7 separate regions of the Homo sapiens genome follow, and regions 2, 3, 4, 5, 6 and 7 are each linked to region 1. Evidence: promoter capture Hi-C in human tissues and cell types (Jung and others, 2019). All regions are on one chromosome and are shown on one strand. The core of a region is centred on a gene start or on the middle of the fragment in contact, and the rest is flanking DNA. Distances in the headings are between cores, read along the strand shown. Region 1 holds the start of ZNF7 (zinc finger protein 7). Region 2 has its middle 20 kb from the start of C8orf33. Region 3 overlaps ARHGAP39 (Rho GTPase activating protein 39). Region 4 holds the start of C8orf33 (chromosome 8 open reading frame 33). Region 5 has its middle 18 kb from the start of ZNF252P-AS1. Region 6 overlaps ARHGAP39 (Rho GTPase activating protein 39). Region 7 has its middle 22 kb from the start of ZNF252P-AS1.

Region 1 (2,622 bases), core at 32-2,531:
ACCTGCAGCAGGCCAGGTTGGGGCATAGGGTTGCCGGCCCCTACCAGCCCTGGGGGTCTGGAGGGCGGCTGGGGAAGCAGACCCCCTGTCCTTCCCTATCCTTCGCGACATGCTCCCTGAGCAGCTGCAGTCCACTTAGATGACCAGAGAGGATGTGGGGCTGAGGGAGCCGAACTCGGGGCAGCAGGGGCGGGGGTGGGAGTGCCGGGATCATCCGCACCGGGAGAGGCGAGGCCGGCGTCTGTTTTTCACCTGGGCCTCCCTGGGGGGCTGGGGGCTGCCTGACTCTTCCCTCCTTTGGTTTGCGCAAGTTTTCCCGCGCGGGTTCGGATCAACACGCCGGGGGAGCCCGGCTTACGTCCCTCCTGGACCCCCGCCCCGTTCTTCCCGTGGGGAGGGGCGCGTCAGGCGGACCTGGCACCCTCCGGCTGCTGGGCTTCGCCGGGAGCCACGCGGGGAGGTCCAGGCAGTCGGGACGCAGGCAGCGTCCTCGCCGAGGCTGCGAGTCCGTGGCCGTCCGGGGGAGGCGCGCAGGCTCTGCCGGACGCAGAAGGAACCCGAAGGAGGCGGGGTGGAGGGCGGTGCGGGGCCGGGGAGGGGCGAGGCGAGTGGCGAGTGGACGCCGGGCCCGGCCTCGGGCAACTCCGAGGGGCGCCCTTCCTCGGGGTCCCGGAGGCTCTGCGACCCCGCGGCCGCTCCAGCCGCTCACTGGGGACAAGGCCCGAGCCAGGCGTCTCCGCGAGGCGGGGTCCATAGCGCGCCCAGCAGGCGCCTCCTGTCGCAGGGACGCGGGGGAGCGGCGCCTGAACAGCCTCGGTGGGAACCAGCGCCCGAAGCTGGTGATCCGGGGTGCGCAGGGCCCAACCGGGCGATCCCCTGGATCTCCGCCAGCCTCGCCCCGACTCCGCTCCTCCCACCCGCCAGCGAGTCCGCAACTCCCGGCCCCGGCCCGCGTCCCCAGCTCCAGGCCCCGGCCCCGCCCCGCCCCTGCTCAGGCACCGCCCACTCCGGGCTCTGGGCCCTCCTCTCCCTCGCGGCTCCGCCCCCTGCCCGCCTCTGACTGTACCCCGCCCCCAGGCGCCAGCCCCGCCTATCTGGGCTTCTGGTCCCGCCCAGGTTCTTGTCCCTCGGGCCCCAGCCTCGCCCCTCCTCGGCTCTGACTCCACCCCTTCTCCGGAGCCTGGGAGGCGGGGCTGAGAACCACAGAGATGGCCGGGCCTCCGAGCGGCCCAGGGCGGCCGGAAGTTTGCGGGGCGGGGCGGACGCGGGTGGCCAAGGCCCGTTTCCGGCGGCGTCGCGCGTTTGCGAGCCTCGGGTGGTCCTCAGGGAGGGTGAGTCGGCGCGGCGGGCGCGGACTCGGGTTGCCCTCGGTCCGAGTGATCCCTGGTCGCTTCCTTAGCCCTCCCGCCTTCGGCATTGGGGTCCCCGCGTCCCCCGGGCCTCCAGGCGGGAAAGCGCGGGGGCTTTGCGGGGCCTTGAGCGCCTGGTGTGGGAGGTGGTCGAGCCCAGCCACCCTCCCCCGCGGCGGCGCGAGGTGGGCTTCGTTTGGCCGAGTCTCGCAGCTCCCCGCAGACCCCGCTCGTGGCGGCCACGGTGTCCGGGGCCTGAGTAAGGCGAGCTCCAGCTGCGGCCTTTTCTTCAGGCCTGGGTCTACTCCCGGGGCCCTGACTCCTCCTGCGAAATCACCTCCTTCTAGAGCCTTTTCTCTTTCTATTTATTGCCCCGGAAGGCCTAGGATAAGTGACAGTGGAGGAAGGAACGGTGCCTTGGGTGGGGTAGGCTGTTTGTCTTCTCTAAATTCTGGTTGCTATTCCGGGCATTCCTACTGTCAGGAGCCAGGTGGGGGGATCAGCCTACCTGTGCCGGTGACCTGGGGCTTCCACCCACAAACCACTTTCTGGGCCAGAAGCTGCCATACGAAGACTCTTTTTCCCATTCCGACCTCCCGGGGGAATGCCTGGGCAGGTAGAGGGTCTGGGGTCATTGGCTTAATTGAGGTGAACGATTTATATCAGATTACATCCCTGTGCCTGGTTCCATCCTGGCGACAGGTGAGCTGGAGACTGGAATTTATGTACTTGAGGGCAGGGGTTTCCATGTCCACTCTTGTCTTCCCTACAGTTTGTCATTTTTGCTCCTGCCTTCTCCAACCTCCAGTCGCTCACTGCCTTCCCCAACCTCCAGTCGCTCACTGCCTTCCCTTGCTGCCGGGAATTTACCCACACTGGTTCATCCAACCCCATTTCTTCTTGCTTCAGGCCCTTTCACATGCTATTCCTGCTGCCTGGAGTGCTCTCTCCACCTCCATTACCTTGGCCGAGGTCCCTGGGGAAGTGACCCATTACACTGAACGTTCTAGTCTAAGTGGCTTTCATAGTTCCCTGTACTTGAGCGCTGTCGTGGTTGCAGTGTGCTTATTTGTGTGGTTATTTAACTCTTTCCTCCGCCAGACTGCTTCGTGAAGGCAGGGTCCTCGTGTCCACTACTGTATCCCCATTACTCAGTGCCTGGCACGTGGCATCCACTTCTTACGGCTTTGTGGAGTGAGTCACACATGCCACACACACATACACTCTAAAGAGGAACAAGAGTTCAGTGGGCCTCCTTCACTCAAGTGCCATG
Region 2 (2,622 bases), core at 87-2,586, 250 kb after region 1:
GTACTCTGTAGCTCCTTTCCCAGTTAAGAGAACCACATCGTGTTCCTAACTTGTTACTATTAATGGCTGCACGAGCATCAAATCTTAAAGTTATTTGTTTGGGGCTTCCTTTTTCTACTGTTCTAGTTATTATTTTACTTGTGTCACCTAGGAAAAGGCCAGTTCTTAATCTTATTTCAAAAACGGTGGTTGCAGGGGGCTCAGATGGGTTATAACACACATCGGGTCGGTCATTTCCTGGGCTACATACCTTGTACTGAGTGGCATTATACAAACAAGTTTCTTTTAATGTTCCCATACATTCATAATAACTATAGAACAGAAAGTTTGTTTTAATTTGCTGTCCTACCTCGGTGACCTGATGAATACTCTGGGAACAGTCCCCAGTTTGAGTAAGGTCAATTGAAGCCCTTACTGTGTAAGTCCAAAATTTAAGAAAAATGAATCCCACGATGAGCTTCCTCATGCTTCGGCCGTGCGTGGACCAGTCAGCTTCCGGGTGTGACTGGAGCAGGGCTTGTCGTCTTCTTCAGGGTCACTCTGCAAGGGTTGTCTGGGCTTGGTCTTGCCTCCCAGGTTTCAGACGGTTTCATGGTGTTCTCTTTGAGCTGGAATTATAGTTGACATTTCATTATAATTTATTAGCTGTTCTAGACTTTATGCATTTATGTGACATTTTCTTTGTTGTACTTTAAGTTCTGGGATACATGGGCAGAGCATGCAGGTTTGTTACATAGGTATACACGTGCCATGGTGTTTGCTGCACCCATCAACCCGTCATCTACATTAGGTATTTCTCCTAATGCTATTCCTCCCCCAGCCTCCCACCCCCCGACAGGCCCCAGTGTGTGATGTTCCCCTCCCTGTGTCCATGTGTTCTCTTTGCTCAACTCCCACTTATAAGTGAGAACATGCAGTGTTTGGTTTTCTTTTCTTCTTTTTCTTTCTTTTTTTTTTTTTGAGACAAAATTTCACTCTTGTTGCCCAGGTTGGAGTGCAATGGCATGATCTTGGGTTACCGCAACCTCTGCCTCCCGGGTTCAAGCGACTCTCCTGCCTCAGCCTCCCAAGTAGCTAGGATTACAGGCATGTGCCAACATGCCTGGCTAATTGTGTGTATTTTTAGTAAAGACGGGGTTTCTCCATGTTGGTCAGGCTGGTCTCAAGCTCCCCACCTCAGATGATCTGCCCACCTCGGCCTCCCAAAGTTCTGAGACTACAGGCATGAGCCACTGCTCCTGGTCTGGTTTTCTTTTCTTGTGTTAGTTTGCTGAGAATGATGGTTTCCAGCTTCATCCATGTCCCTGGAAAGGACATAAATTCGTAGTATTCCATGGTGTATATGCGCCACATTTTCTTTATCCAGTTTATCATTGATGGGAATTTGGGTTGGTTCCAAGTCTTTGCTATTGTGAAGAGTGCTGAAATAAACATACAGTGCATGTGTCTTTATAGTATAATAATTTATAATGCTTTGGGTATATACCCCATAATGGGATTTACACTCCTACCAACTAATTTACACTCCTACCAACAGTGTAAAAGCATTCCTATTTCTCCACAGCCTCGTCAGCATCTGTTGTTTCCTGACTTTTTAATAATGGCCATTCTAACTGGTGTGAGATGGTATCTCATTGTGGTTTTGATTTGCATTTATCTAATGACCAGTGATGATGAGCTTTTTTCAATATGTTTTTTGGCCACATAAATGTCTTCTTTTGAGAAGCATCTGTTCTTTTCCTTTGGCCACTTTTTGATGGGGTTGTTTTTTTCTTGTAAATTTGTTTAAGTTCTTTGTAGATTCTGGATATTAGCCCTTTGTCAGACAGATTGCAAAAATTTTCTCCCAGTCTGTAGGTTGTCTGTTCACTCTGATGAGTTTATTTTGCTGTCCAGAAGCTCTTTAGTTTAATTAGATCCCATTTGTCAATTTTGGCTTCTGTTGCCGTTGCTTTTGGTGTTTTAGTCATAAAGTCTTTGCCCATGCCTATGTCCTGAATGGTATTGCCAAGGTTTCTTCCAGGGTTTTTATGGTTTTAGGTCTTATGTTTAAGTCTTTATTCCATCTTGAGTTATTTTTTTTGTATAAGGTGTAAGGAAGATGTCCAGTTTCAGTTTTCTGCATATGGCTAGCCAGTTTTCCCAACATGATTTATTAAATAAGGAATCCTTTCCCATTGCTTGTGTTTGTCAGGTTTGTCAAAGATCAGATGGTTGTATGTGTATGGTCTTATTTCAGAGTTCTGTATTCTGTTTCATTGGTCTATGTGTCTGTTTTTGTACCAGTACCATGCTGTTTTGGTTACTGTAGCCTTATAGTATAGTTTGAAGTTGGGTAGTGTGATGCCTCCAGCTTTGTTCTTTTTGCTTAGAATTGTCTTGGCTATTTGGGCTCTTTTTTGCTTCATGAGAATTGTAAAATAGTTTCTTCTAATTCTGTGAAGAATGTCATTGGTAGTTTAATGGGAATAGCATTGAATTCTTCTATAAATTACTTTGGGCAGTACGGCCATTTTCATGAATTAATTCTTCCCTATCCATGAGCATGGAATGCTTCTCCATTTATTTGTGTCCTATCTGATTTCTCTGGGCAGTGGTTTGTAGTCCTCCTTGAAGAGGTTC
Region 3 (2,622 bases), core at 93-2,592, 250 kb before region 1:
CATCCTGGCTAACATGGTGAAACCCTGTTTCTACTAAAAACACAAAAAATTAGCTGGGCGTGGTGGCAGGTGCCTGTAGTCCCAGCTACTCGGGAGGCTGAGGCAGGAGAGTGGTGTGAACCCGGGAGGCGGAACTTGCAGTGAGCAGCAATCGTGCCACTGCACTCCAGCCTGGGCGACAGAGCGAGACTCTGTCTCAAAAAAAAAAAAAAAAAAAAAAAAGAAAGTGAAAAAAGGCTCAAAGTCATTAGTCATTAAGGAAATGCAAACCAAAACTACAATGAGACATTTCACAGTGGCTACAATAGCTAAAAGAAATCTAAAAAGGAAAGCAAGTAGTGTTGGCAAGGCCGTGGATAACTTTGAACCCTCATATTTGCTGGTGGGATGTGAAATGTAGGCCCTGGTCCTCTTTGTGCCCGCCTTCTGCACCGCTCGCTCACCCACGCCACGCCCGAGCCTCCGCTGCTCACCCTGCCCTGAATACCGACACCAACACCGTCTTCCCGGTGTGCTCCAGTGGCTCCTCCACACCTGATTTGCCCCACCTCCTGCCCACTCTGCAGCAGGCCCCATCCCTGGCCTCCCTTTCATCCTGCCAGACCGGGTCCACGGGATGAACCTGCTGCCCGCCTCCCTCTGTGCCTGCACCTCGGCACGGTGGGACGGAAGCCTGCTGTCCTCTGAGCTCTGTGGTTCACTCTGAATCCCTCTTCTGAAGCCTCAGATGAGCCCGGCAGTCCAACACGCTCCTTCCCACCTCTGCAGAAAGCCCCTGGGCCTCAGCTCCCCTGGCAACCTCAGCCAAGCACCGAAAATCTGGTACTGGGGGAGACCAATCCCCTGCCTTTCTCTCCCTGGGGTCCAGCCTCTCCTCCATCCTCTCCAGAGTGGCCTCCATCCGCCCCTGCAGTGGCCAGGCCTGTCTGCCCTGGGCCACAGCCTGGGCTCTGGGAAGCCCCAGCCTCCTGTCCCTGCCTCGGCTCTTCCCCACTGTCCTGCTGGCCTGCCGCCTGCCTCAGCCCTTCCCCACTGTCCTGCCCGCCTGCCTCGGCTCTTCCCCACCGTCCTCTCTGGACTCGCTTCCCACGGTGCACTCACCTCGAGGCCCTTGCGCTCTACCCTGACCTCTCCCTGTTTCTGAGGGCAGGGGTCTCCTGGGCTCCCACCAACACAGGCTGTGCTCCTTCGGAGCCACTGTGACTCCAGAGGACCACCTCCAAGCCTGCTCAGACCCCTCAGCTGTGTCCACACTGATCTACACCCTCCACCTGGGTCCCCCTAGGTCCACACACCCCACGCCCGCACGCAAATCCCCACATCTGCATCTCCCATCAGCAGAGAGAGCTGGGCGAGCCCCTCAGACACTGCTCTCAGGAACCACCACCTGCCAGGGGCTGGGCCAGTGAGGGGCAGGGTTGGAGGACCCAGAACCCTCTGAGGCTGAGCGCCAGGCTCTGCTGCCCAGAGAGACAAGAAAGTGCTCACTGGGGACAGCAGCGGTGGCTGCTACAGCCAAGGACGAGGCTCTGGCCACTCGCGGGGACACTGAGTCCCCTGGGTCCCCGCCCACCGCCCTCACCTGGCCCTGCCCACCATACCTGACCTACTCCTCACCTGGCCCCGCCCACCACCGTCACCAGTCCCGCTCTCACGTGGCCCCGCCCATTCCACTCACCTGGCCCCGCCCACCATACCCGACCTACTCCTAACCTGGCCCCGCCCACCACCTTCACCAGTCCCGCTCTCACCTGGCCCCGCCCACCACCCCCTACCTGCCTCACCTGGCCCCGCCCACTCCATTCACCTGGCCCCGCCCATAGCAGCTGCCCCCGCCCTCACCTGCCGCTGTCCTCCTTCACTGTCCCAAACGCCGCGGGCCGCCCGGCCCTCGCTGGCAACTCCTGCGCTTTCTCAGTGTCGGGCTCGGGCTCCAGGGAGGAGCTGGTGCTGCCCTCACGGCTGACGCTGCTGCCGCGCCCGGGGCTGCTCTCCGCCGAGGCGCGCGGGGACTCCGTGTTCTGCTTCAGCGTCTGCAGCTTGGCCAGCGGGATGATGTCGCAGCCCTGCGGCCGGTGCCACACCGTGCGCTGCGTGCTGGCATTGTAGTAGTAGAAGCGGGACGTGTTGGGGTCGAACAGCTCCCACCACTGGTTCTCGCTGGTGCGCTTGATGCGGACGCCGGCCGGCGGGTCCCACACGCACTCACCGGTGACCAGGTTGGCGTACATGCGCTCGCGGGTGCGCGGTTCGATGATCTCCACCCACTCCAACCTGGGGAGAGACAGGGTTAAGGCGGCTGGAGCCACGGCGGCCTGGGCCCGCGCCTCCCACCCCTGCAGACCCCGGCTCCAGCCCCAGCTGCGAAACCCAGAAATCCTGTCATAGAGGAAAGCAAACCCAAGCCCAGTCCGCCCCTGACTGCTGTGCTCCTGAGCACCCGCAACCGGGGAAGCCCCCGGAGCCGCCAGCGCCTCAGGGTGGTGCAGCCCTTTGGGGGGTCCTGGGCCCCACGTGGGGTAGGGACATACTGGCTGTGGTTGCAGGCTCCTGTCCTCACAGGCACCCAGGCCACAACCTCACTGCCCACTGCTCCGTCCTGCAGGATCGTGGCACAGGCCT
Region 4 (2,622 bases), core at 49-2,548, 220 kb after region 1:
TCCGCCCGCATCGGCCTCCCAAAGTGTTGGGATTACAGGCGTGAGTCACCGCGCCCGGCCAATCCGCCGAATTTTGGGAGTAATGTATCACACTGCAGTAAATAACTATCAGTGATGACCAAACTGTAACCCTTCGAGACCTTGCAGACCAGGCAGCTAACACTTCCCACCCCACCGTCTCAGGAAACACCGCTTTCCACTCCTGTGTCCCCGAAAGGAATCATCAGACATCTCGGACTCTTACCTTCTCAAGCAACACAACCCACCCTCCTGGCATAGCCCGTTGCCCCCCTGAAACCCTACTCAGCCTCACCTCAACCCCTACGCAATTCCTCTCGGTTGTCATGCCTCCATCGGCGGGGGTCGAGTGTTGTGTGTGACCCCAGGTCTCTAGCAAGGTATAGTGGGAGGGAAGCATCCAGGGGAAGAGAGGTGGTGGGATGGGGCTCTCCCTCTCCCCCATACCGCCACCCTCCCTCACGTCCATATCCTGTCCAAGGCTCTTCCCGCGTCTGCTTCTGAAACCCCTCCACGTCCCTCCACCCCATGTGCCCCACTCGTTACACAAGAGCAGAGAGATCTGCAGAACATACGTCTACGATTATGCCACTCTTCAGATTTACATCTTGCAGCGACTTCCCACTGCGTTAGAACGGAAGTAAGCCCATGACGGGGGCCCTCCCAACTCTCAGACCTCACCCGAGCCTCCACGTCCCGAGACGCCGGCCTCTCAAACGACCGCGCCCTGACCCTCGCTCTTCCCCATTTCCCAGGGTCTTTGCCGACCACCCTCTTGCGCCGTAGCTGCTCACGTGCTGTTTACTTGCTTTTCCCTCCCCACCAAAAGGTGAGCCTTGAGAAGACACACCCTCGTGGAGAGCTTTGAACTTTTATCCGGAAAGGTGCCGGGCACGTAGTCAGCGCCCGCGATCACTCGCTCACAAGGGTTCTTCCGAGACCCCTCTTCAGCCTCTTCCCCGAACCCCCAGGCCCCGCCCCAGCCCCATCTCAGCTTCGTCCCAGGCGCGTCCCAGCTTCGCCCCGTCCCAGCTTCATCCCACCCCAGCCGCGCCCCGCCCCGCCCGCTCCCCGCCCCGCCCGCGCCCCGCCCGCGCCCCGCCCCGCCCGCGCCCCGCCCGCGCCCCGCCCGCGCCCCGCCCGCGCCCCGCCCGCGCCCCGCCCGCGCCCCGCCCGCGCCCCGCCCGCGCCCCGCCCGCGCCCCGCCCGCGCCCCGCGGAACCTAGAGTCGCAGGCGCGTTCTTGAAGGACGGAATTCGGCGTCGGACTCTGCGCCCCGCGTAGTTCCGGTGGCGACTGCGGCGCATGGCGGTGAGCGGTGTGGAGAAGACGCGCGGGTGGCTGGGCCTTGCATTGTTGGCGGCTCTCGGTGACCCTCGTGCTACCCCCCTTTCTCCAGGCCCTGGGACATCTTGCTGGGGAGGCAGCGGCGGCCCCAGGCCCGGGTACTCCCTGCGCGTCCCGCGGAGCCCGGCTTCCCGGCCCAGTTTCCAGCGCCCGGAATCCTTCCACTGTCTGTCTCTGCCCAGAGCAACCTACGTGCAGTAACGCTGACTCCAGAGCGCACCCGTTGGGCGATGAAGGCGGCACAGCGTCGAAAAAACAAAAGAATAAGAAGAAAACGCGGAACAGGGCCTCTGTGGCAAATGGAGGCGAGAAGGCCTCAGAGAAACTCGCCCCAGAAGAAGTTCCCCTAAGCGCTGAGGCCCAGGCAAGGGCGGGCTTCGGTCGGGAAGGGTGGAATCCACGGGTGCGAATCCACGGGCACGTGTGATCTGGGGTCCGCGGAGTTAAGGCGGGGAGGGGCATGGGATGGGGCCGGCGGCTATGGTTTTCCAGTGCCCTCTCACAGCCACTTCCCCAAATCCATCACAGGCACAACAGTTGGCCCAGGAATTGGCTTGGTGTGTGGAGCAACTGGAGCTGGGCCTCAAGAGGCAGAAACCCACCCCGAAACAGAGTAAGGGACCCTTCTGTAGAGCTGGGGGATGTGAACAGTGGCACTGCCTGGCCTGCAGGTGCTGGCAGAGTATGGAGTTGTTGGCTTTGCGGCGGGGTGGTAGGAGGTCAGTAATAGAGGTGTTCACTAGTCCTTTATTTTTATTCGCAGAAGAGCAGGCTATTGGAGCAATCCGAACCCTGCGCAGCAAAAGAACGCCCTTGCCCCGGAAGAGGCAGCTGATGCACTCCTTGTTTGGAGACTATAGGGCTCAGATGGAAGCCGAATGGCGTGAGGCCCTGCGGGCTCTCAGAGCTGGTGAGGAGCTAGCCACTGGTTGATTCAGGAAGGCCTAACTTAAGGAGGAAGTGTCTAGGGGGTGAAAGGAAGAAGGCCCAGAGCAACAAGCCTGGTGGGGGAAGGAGATGGGCTCAGGGAAGCCTGAGGGAGCAGGGAAACAGAAAGCGTGGACCTCTCTTTCCTCTTCCTAGGACTGAACCTGGGAAGCAGCGGGGAGGCCCTGGGAGGAGTGGGAAAGAGCATGGTCCTATGTTGGTCCTGCTCCTGGGTTGGGGAAAGCTGCCTCATGTCTTTGTGTCTTGGCTTTCTCTACTAGCAATGAAGCCATATCCCATAACAGTTTGAGTGCAATTCCTGGGGCCAGA
Region 5 (2,622 bases), core at 50-2,549, 190 kb after region 1:
ACCCTCAGCTGCAGGTCTGTTGGAGTTTGCTGGAGGTCCACTCTAGATCCTGTTTGCCTGGATATGACCAGTAGAGGCTACAGAATAGCGAATATTGCAGAATAGCAAATGTTGCTGCCTGATCATTCCTCTGGAAGCTTCATCTCAGAGGGGTACCCGGCCGTGTGAGGTATCAGTCAGCCCCTACTGGGAGGTGCCTCCCAGTTAGGGTACTCAGGTGTCAGGGAGCCACTTGAGGAGGCAGTCTGTTTGTTCTCAGATCTCAAACTCCATGCTGGGAGAACCACTACTCTCTTCAAAGCTGTCAGACAGGGACATTTAAGTCTGCAGAAGATTCTGCTGCCTTTTGTTCAGCTATGCCCTGCACCCAGAGGTGGAGTCTGCAGAGGCTGGTAGGCCTCCTTGAGCTGCAGTGGGCTCCATCCAGTTCAAGCTTCCCAGCCGCTTTGTTTACCTACTGAAGTCTCAGCAATGGTGGGCGCCCCTCCCCCAGCCTTGCTGCCACCTTGCAGTTCGATCTCAGACTGCTGTGCTAGCAATGAGCAAGGCTCCATGGGTGTGGGACCCTCCAAGCCAGGTGTAGGAAATAATCTCCTGGTGTGCCATTTGCTAAGACCATTGGAACAGCACAGTATTAGGGTGGGAGTGACCCGATTTTCCAGGTGCCATCTGTCACAGCTTCCCTTGGCTAGGAAAGGGAATTCCCTGACCCCTTGCACTTCCCAGGTGAGGTGGTGCCTTGCCCTGCTTCAGGTCTCACTCGGTGGGCTGCACCCACTGTCCTGCACCCACTGTCTGACAAGCTCCAGTGAGATGAACCTGGTATTTCAGTTGGAAATGCAGAAATCACCTGTCTTCTGCATCGCTCATGCTGGGAGCTCTAGACTGGAACTGTTCCTATTTGGCCATCTTGGAACCTCCCATGTAGGTTACCATTTTTAGGGGTGGTCACTGTTGAGCCTCCAAGTCCTATTCCCTTAAAATGGAAGACCCAAAATCCTGTTTGGGTTGAGCTGTGGCCACTTACTCAGGAAAAATTGGGGGCCTTACAGGAATTAGTCAAAGAGCAATTAAACAAAGGAAGCATTGAGCCCACATTTTCTCCATAGAATTTGCCGGTGTTTGTAATAAAGAAAAAATCCAGCAGATGGCGCATGCTAACCGACTTACGTGTGGTGAACACATTCATTCAGCTGATTGGGGCCCTGCAGCTGGGGCTTCTATCCCCCACCATGATTCCTAGAGACTGGCCATTAGTAATTATAGATTTGAAGGATTGCTTTTTAAATATTCTTCTAGCAGAGTCTGATTTTGTGAAATTTGCTTTTACTATTCCTGCTATGAACAACAAGGAACCAGCAGCCAGATATCATTGGAAAGTCCTGCTGCAGGATATGTTGAATAGTCCTACTATTTGTCAAACTTTTGTGGGGAAGGCTATTCCACCTGTGAGAGATCAGTTTCCTGATTCATATATCATTCATTTTATGGATGACATATTGGGTACGGTCAAAAGTTAAGACTGACTTATCCAGTGTTATTCATATTTACAGGAGGTGGTAGCCAATGCTGGATTGCTCATAGCACCAGATAAAATTCAAACATCCACTCCTTTCCAATATTTGGGAATGCAGGATCAGGAAAGGGCAATTAGACCCCAAGAGGTTCAAATTCAAAAAGACTCTCTGAAAACTTTAAATGATTTTCAAAAATTATTAGGGGATATCAATTGGATTTGACCTCCTTTGGGAATCCCTACCTATGCTATGTCTAATCTGTTCTCTATTTTAAGAGGTGACCCTGCTCTCAATAGTAAATGAGAACTGACTCCTGAGACTGCCAAAGAATTACAAATGATTGAAGAAAAAATACAACAGGCCCAGGTTAATAGAATAGACTCAAATTTACCATTACAGTTCATTGTGTTCCCTACTCTCCATTCTTCTACAGGGGTTACAGTTCAGAGTGAGGACTTAGTTGAATGGTCTTTTCTGCCTCACAATACTGTTAGAACACTCACAGTATACTTGGATCAGATGGCAATCTTGATTGGGCAAGCTCACCTTAGAGTTGTTAAACTTTGTGGCTCAGATCCAGATAAGATTATAGTTCCAATGAATAAAAATCAGATTTGGAAAGCCTTTGTTAATTCAGTCAATTGGCAAATAGATTTAGCTGGCTTCATTGGAGTTCTTGATAATCTGAAGGGGTGGCCTGCCCCTCCACACCTGTGGGTATTTCTAGTCAGGTGGGATGGGAGACTGAGAAAAGAAATAAGACACAGTGACAAAGTATAGAGAAACAACAGTGGGCCCAGGAGAGCGGCACTCGGCACACCAAGGACCTGCACCGGCACCGGTCTCTGAGTTCCCTCAGTTTTTATTGATTATTATTTTCATGATTTCAGCAGAAAGGAATGTAGTAGGAGAGCAGGGTGATAATAAGGAGAAGGTCAGCAAAAAGCATGTGAGCAAAGGAATCTATGTCATAATTAAGTTCAAGGGAAAGTACTATGCCTGGATGTGCACATAGGCCAGATTTATGTTTCTCTCCACCCAAACATCTCAGTGGAGTAAAGAATAACAAGGCAGCATTGCTGCCAACATGTCTCACCTCCCACCA
Region 6 (2,622 bases), core at 49-2,548, 190 kb before region 1:
GGCTTGGGAAAGAGTGACACTGCATTTGTTTTCACTCTGCCACCCTTACCTGGAAGCCAGTATGCTTTTTTTAAAAATTACCTTCGGCACGGGCCAGGAGCGGTGGCTCACGCCTGTAATCCCGACACTTTGGGAGGCCGAGGCAGGTAGATCACTTGAGGTCAGGAGTTTGAGACCAGTCTGACCAACATGGTGAAACTCCACCTCTACTAAAAATACAAAAATTAGCCGGGCATGGTGGTACATGCCTGAGTCCCCGCTACTTGGGAGGCTGAGGCAGGAGAATCACTTGAGCCCGGGAGGTGGAGGTTGCAGTGAGCTGAGATCGCACCACTGCACTCCAGCCTGGGTGACAGAGCGAGATGCTGTCTCAAAAAAAAAAAAAAAAGAAAGAAAGAAAGAAAGAAAGAAAAGAAATATTTTTGAATTAATTTAAATTTCATTTCTATCACAAAAACTATTTCAAAATATAAAAAAAGAACTTCTTAAATCATCATCTGTTAACATTAACCATATTACAGGCACACCGCACAGATGTCTTCCTGGTCAACATTTCTTGGTAGAGCATCTTTTTATTTTTGACAGTTTATAAGTTCACAAACCATATGATTCTTCCAATACGTATTCCTGTCAATGGTTGCCACGGTAAATTTTGTATTTACATCAAGAAACAAAACCAACATTTTAACAAAATGAAGTGCAGGGGAGAAAAAAAAAATCCTCAAGTTGCATTTCAGATACAAGTAGAAGACGCCACAATCACACACGTGGATGTGAGCAGAGCACGTGCTGCGTGGATGATGCTGACACAAACAGGCCTCTCAATGTCACCCTGGGAAAAGCAACAGTGAAAGCTTCACCTCGGCTGTCCAGTGTCAGGAAGCCGCATTTAAAACATTAACATCCTCACACAATAGCCTGTTTCTTGTATAAAGGGTGTTTGTTACACGGATGCTTTGTCTTAGGAAACTGGTTGCACTGACACAATAATTTACTGGCTTTTCCTATTTAACATGAAAAAGACAGCATTTTCATGCAAGACGTCTGGTTTTCAGGAATGGGTTACGGATGCAAGAACTACCCTTGCTCTCTGTAGAATATATTACAGGCGACATGCAGAAAATATGGAAAACCATTTCTGCCAAAAGCCAGATCGAGTAATCTATGCTATTTTAGAAGCTCCATGACACCAGGGATTGGCTAAACACAAACACGTTCAAACAAGCACCCACCTGTTTTTGGACTCTCGCGTGGCTCAGTTGCACACGGGGGACTGACAGGGACAGTTTTCATGGCACATGATGTGGTTTGGCTCTGTGTCCCCACCCAAATCTCATTTTGTAGCTCCCATAATTCCCACATGTTGGGGGAGCGACCTGGTGGGAGATAATTGAATCATAGGGGTGGGTCTTTCCCATGCTGTTTTCGTGATAGTGAATGAGTCTCACGAGATCTGATGGTTTTAAAAATGGGAGTCTCCCTGCACAAGCTCTCCTCTTTGCCTGCTGCCATCCAGGTAAGACGTGACTTGCTCCTCCTTGCCTTGCACCATGATTGTGAGGCCTCCCCAGCCATGTGGAACTGTGTAAGTCCATTAAACCCTTTTTCCTGTATAAATTACCCAGTCTCAGGTATGTTTTTATCAGCAGCTTGAAAACAGACTAATACAGCACACTTACAAAGCAACACTTCAATGTAGATTTAGCAGAAACAACAAAAAATGTCACAACACTGCAGTAAAGAAGTGTTTTCCCGATAAATACCCATTAGGTATTAGATAAGCATCCCATAAAACATTGTTGAAAACGAAGCCGAGTTTTCGATTCACACAGTTGTCTGTTTTAACCTCTCTAAATCCCGATAAATAGCCATTAGGTATTAGATAAGCGTCCCACGAAACATTGTTGAAAACGAAGCCACGTTTTCCGATTCACACAGTTAGTTGTCTGTTTTAACCTCGCTAAATGCTCTGTTCTAGTTGCTTTCATTTCATCAGACCCTAGTACATAGAAATCAACATTGTGAGGGTCCCACTCTTCATCTATATAGACATTACTCTATTTCTTATTTCCTACAATAATAAAATGTACACTCAACTAGATATTTTTATTTCTCATCTGCCTGGGCCCATCCCAGCACCAGTTCTTGCAGAGGTGTTCCAGGAGGTGACATCTGAAAGCTTTCATCCACCATCCACCTGTTCTGCCACAGGATCACGGGGGGAAAGACCACACCGGCTTCTGGTTCTCAGGTTCTAGTCTATGACATCTGGGACCCTGGGGCACCGGTCTCTGGCCCTCAAGGCACCAGAGGACGGGAAAGGAGAGGCAGACGCTATTAAATTCTTTATGGAATGAAAATTAACTCTTTATGTTGTATAACTGGCTGCTACAATCTGTCAAGCAGAAATGAGACAACATGGAGATGCAGACGCAGGCAGATGATGGGCTGGTAAAGCGAAGCTGACCACCAAGACCCCACCATGCTCACATCGAGGAGGAATGCAGTGGCGCCCAGGTGGCCAACTCCCGAGGCAGGAGCTCAGGCAGGGCCCTGGCAGCACCACCTGACCTGTCTCCTGGCATCCCCTCAGCTCTCCTGCGTTCTGCCCATCACTCACCC
Region 7 (2,622 bases), core at 34-2,533, 150 kb after region 1:
ACAGGGAGACTGAGCTAAAAATACTAACTGGATGAGGCCTAAAATTGAGTTAAGTATGGCTGGGTGTGGTGGATCACGCTTGTAATCCCAGCACTTTGGGAGGCCAAACCGGGTGGATCACCTGAGGTCAGGAGTTTTAGACCAGCATGGCCAACATGGCAAAACCACATCTCTACTAAAAATACAAAATTTAGCTGGGCATGGTGGCGGGTGCTTCTAATCCCAGCTACTTGGGAGGCTGAGGCAGGAGAATAGCTTGAACTCAGGAGGTGGGGGTTGCAGTAAGTCAAGATTGTGCCACTGCAGTCCAGCCTGGGTGACAGAGCAAGACTCTGTCTCAAAAAATAAAATAAAATAAAATAAAATAATAAAATAAAATAAAATAAAACAAAAAGCTAAGTAATCGCAATAGATTTCTGTGAACTACTCATGGTACTACAGAGGGATTGATTTTGCCATTCAGAGTATGAAAGGAAAAAAGCAAACTTCATAATTTACTCTAGAAACCTACAAACAGTGTCCTAGAAGATAAACATCCTGAATGTAGGGAGAAAAATTTCTGAGGTATCTGAGGAGTTGAGTCCTCAAGGTAGTCTCAGGACTAAAGTCTGACAGATGATTCTATTAGGTGTTATTTTGCTGGGAGGAGACAAAATAAATGTGAACAAAATGAGAAACCATAAGAGAGAGTCATCCATAAGACAAGAACCAACATCTCACACTAAAGTTCATATTGCCATTTCCCTCAGATATCTGGTGATCCTTGGTTGGCGGTGTTTAATTTCTTTCTTTCTTTCTTTTTTTTTTTTTTTGAGACAGAGTTTTTTTGCTCCTGTTGCCCAGGCTGGAGTGCAATGGCACAATCTTGGCTCACCACAACCTCTGCCTCCTGGGTTCAAGTGATCCTCCTGCCTCAGCCTCCTGAGTAGCTGGGATTACAGGCACATGCCACCATGCCCAGCTAATTTTTGTATTTTTAGTAGAGACAGGATTTCACCATGTTGGCCAGGATGGTCTTGATCTCTTGACCTCATGATCTGCCCACCTTGGCCTCCCAAAGTGTTGGGATTACAGGTGTGAGCCACCGTACCCAGCCAATATCAGAATCTTGAAGATAGGTTTGCACTCCCATGTTCACTGCAGCATTATTCACAATAGCCAAGAGGTGGAAACAACCTAGATGTCCATCAACAGATGGATGTATAAAGAAAATCTGGTATATCCATATGATGAAATATTCAGCCATAAAATATTGTAGAAGAAAATCCTGTCCTATGCAACTACACAAATGAACTCTGAGGACATTATGCTAAGTGAAATAAGACATCATAGAAGGATGAATACTGCACAGTTCCACTTAAATGAAGTATCTAAAATAGTCAAACTGATAGAAACAAAAAGTGCAATCGTGGTTGCCAGGGGTTGGTTGCCAGGGGTTGGGGAGAGGGAGAAATGGGGAGTTGCTATTCAGTGGGTACAGGGTTTCAGTCATGCAAGGTTTTGAGAAAGTTCCAGAGACCTGCTCTACAGCATTTTGCTATTGTATTGTATACTTAAAAGTGTTTAAGAATGTAGACTGATCCTCATGTTATATAATTTTACCACAATTTAAGAAATACTTTAATAATGGTGGGAAACTTCTGATATTTCCTGGAAAACATTAAACTGCACATCCAAGAGGCCCAAAGAACTCCAAATGGGATAAACACAAAGATACCAACACTCAGAAACATCATGGTAAAAACGTTAAATGTTAATGACAAGGAGAAAATCTTGAAAGCAAGAGAAAAACAACTTATCATGTACAAGGGTGCCCCAATAAGATAAACAGCAGACTTCTTATCAGAACTAATGGAGGTCAGAAGACAGTGGATAACATATTCAAAGTTCTGAAAGAAAAAGACTCTCAACCAAGAATTTTCTATCCTGGCCAAGTATGTTGGCTCACACCTATAATCCCAGCAATTCAGGAGGCCAAAGTGGATGGATCACCTGAGATCAGGAGTTCGAGACCAGCCTGGCAAACATGGTGAAACCCCACCTCTATTAAAAAAAAAAGCTGGGTATGGTGGTGCATGCCTATAATCCCAGCTACTCAGGAGGCTGAGGCAGGAGAATCACTTGAACCCAGGAGGTGGAGGCTGCAGTGAGCTGAGATCATGCCACTGTACTCCAGCCTGGGCAACAGAGTGAGACTGTCTCTAAAAAAGAAGAAGAAGAAAAAAGAAGTTTCTATCCAGCAAATTATCTTTCAAAAGTGAAGATGAAATAAAAGCATTACCAGATAAATATAAACATAATTTATTGCTGCTAGATGCACCTTAAAAAAAAACCAAAGAAAATTCTTCAGGTTGGAAGCAAGTAAACACAGATAGAAATGAGAACCCACCCAAAACACAAAGAATAAAGATGAAGGTAATTCTTTAATTATATGAAAGTATAAATATATGTTTTTCATCTCTCTTAATTAATTTAAAAAGCAATTTTATAAATCGAATTTATATAGTTATATTGTTTAGGCTTTAAGATGTAAAAATGTATTATATATGACAACAGCACAAAGGAGGTGGATGAGAACAGAGTTGTACTGTACAAAGGAAATGACAGCAGATGGTAACCTGA

Evidence for each region. Contacts are between HindIII fragments. The study calls those that stand out against the background at their distance.
Region 2: a fragment that was not itself captured here is called in contact with the fragment with the promoter of ZNF7 in region 1 in 3 of the 25 tissues and cell types used here (mesenchymal stem cells, mesendoderm cells and spleen).
Region 3: a contact is called between a fragment that was not itself captured here and the fragment with the promoter of ZNF7 in region 1, in 3 of the 25 tissues and cell types used here (dorsolateral prefrontal cortex, mesenchymal stem cells and spleen).
Region 4: a contact is called between the fragment with the promoter of C8orf33 here and the fragment with the promoter of ZNF7 in region 1, in 4 of the 25 tissues and cell types used here (dorsolateral prefrontal cortex, heart right ventricle, lymphoblastoid cells and 1 more).
Region 5: a contact is called between a fragment that was not itself captured here and the fragment with the promoter of ZNF7 in region 1, in 8 of the 25 tissues and cell types used here (H1 embryonic stem cells, dorsolateral prefrontal cortex, lymphoblastoid cells and 5 more).
Region 6: a contact is called between a fragment that was not itself captured here and the fragment with the promoter of ZNF7 in region 1, in 2 of the 25 tissues and cell types used here (dorsolateral prefrontal cortex and spleen).
Region 7: a contact is called between a fragment that was not itself captured here and the fragment with the promoter of ZNF7 in region 1, in 6 of the 25 tissues and cell types used here (H1 embryonic stem cells, IMR-90 fibroblasts, dorsolateral prefrontal cortex and 3 more).

What each region holds. Positions count from the first base shown.
Region 1 is chr8:144,826,279-144,828,900 of GRCh38, forward strand. ZNF7 (zinc finger protein 7) reads left to right here and starts at 1,282. Exons shown (of 5, transcript NM_003416.4): 1 at 1,282-1,331. It overlaps LOC100130027 (a long non-coding RNA gene), which reads right to left and starts at 762. Exons shown (of 5, transcript NR_147501.1): 1 at 1-762. RefSeq lists a silencer at 473-1,602 and enhancers at 934-1,459, 1,460-1,985, 1,986-2,511. The HindIII fragment of the contact is 13,991 bases long and covers 1-2,622 here.
Region 2 is chr8:145,071,445-145,074,066 of GRCh38, forward strand. No RefSeq gene overlaps it. Among named protein-coding and RNA genes, the nearest start is that of C8orf33, 20 kb to the left of the region's middle. The HindIII fragment of the contact is 6,005 bases long and covers 1-2,622 here.
Region 3 is chr8:144,579,004-144,581,625 of GRCh38, forward strand. It overlaps ARHGAP39 (Rho GTPase activating protein 39), which reads right to left. Exons shown (of 12, transcript NM_025251.3): 3 at 1,843-2,274. Among named protein-coding and RNA genes, the nearest start is that of C8orf82, 51 kb to the left of the region's middle. The HindIII fragment of the contact is 7,795 bases long and covers 1-2,622 here.
Region 4 is chr8:145,051,169-145,053,790 of GRCh38, forward strand. C8orf33 (chromosome 8 open reading frame 33) reads left to right here and starts at 1,299. Exons shown (of 5, transcript NM_023080.3): 1 at 1,299-1,329; 2 at 1,418-1,729; 3 at 1,894-1,978; 4 at 2,129-2,275. The coding sequence starts at 1,324. RefSeq lists enhancers at 725-854, 895-944, 1,873-2,622 and a silencer at 1,155-1,224. The HindIII fragment of the contact is 15,142 bases long and covers 1-2,622 here.
Region 5 is chr8:145,019,042-145,021,663 of GRCh38, forward strand. No RefSeq gene overlaps it. Among named protein-coding and RNA genes, the nearest start is that of ZNF252P-AS1, 18 kb to the left of the region's middle. The HindIII fragment of the contact is 6,395 bases long and covers 1-2,622 here.
Region 6 is chr8:144,638,954-144,641,575 of GRCh38, forward strand. All of the region lies in intron 1 of ARHGAP39 (Rho GTPase activating protein 39), which reads right to left. Among named protein-coding and RNA genes, the nearest start is that of ARHGAP39, 46 kb to the right of the region's middle. The HindIII fragment of the contact is 3,705 bases long and covers 1-2,622 here.
Region 7 is chr8:144,979,485-144,982,106 of GRCh38, forward strand. It overlaps the pseudogene ZNF252P. Among named protein-coding and RNA genes, the nearest start is that of ZNF252P-AS1, 22 kb to the right of the region's middle. The HindIII fragment of the contact is 4,345 bases long and covers 1-2,622 here.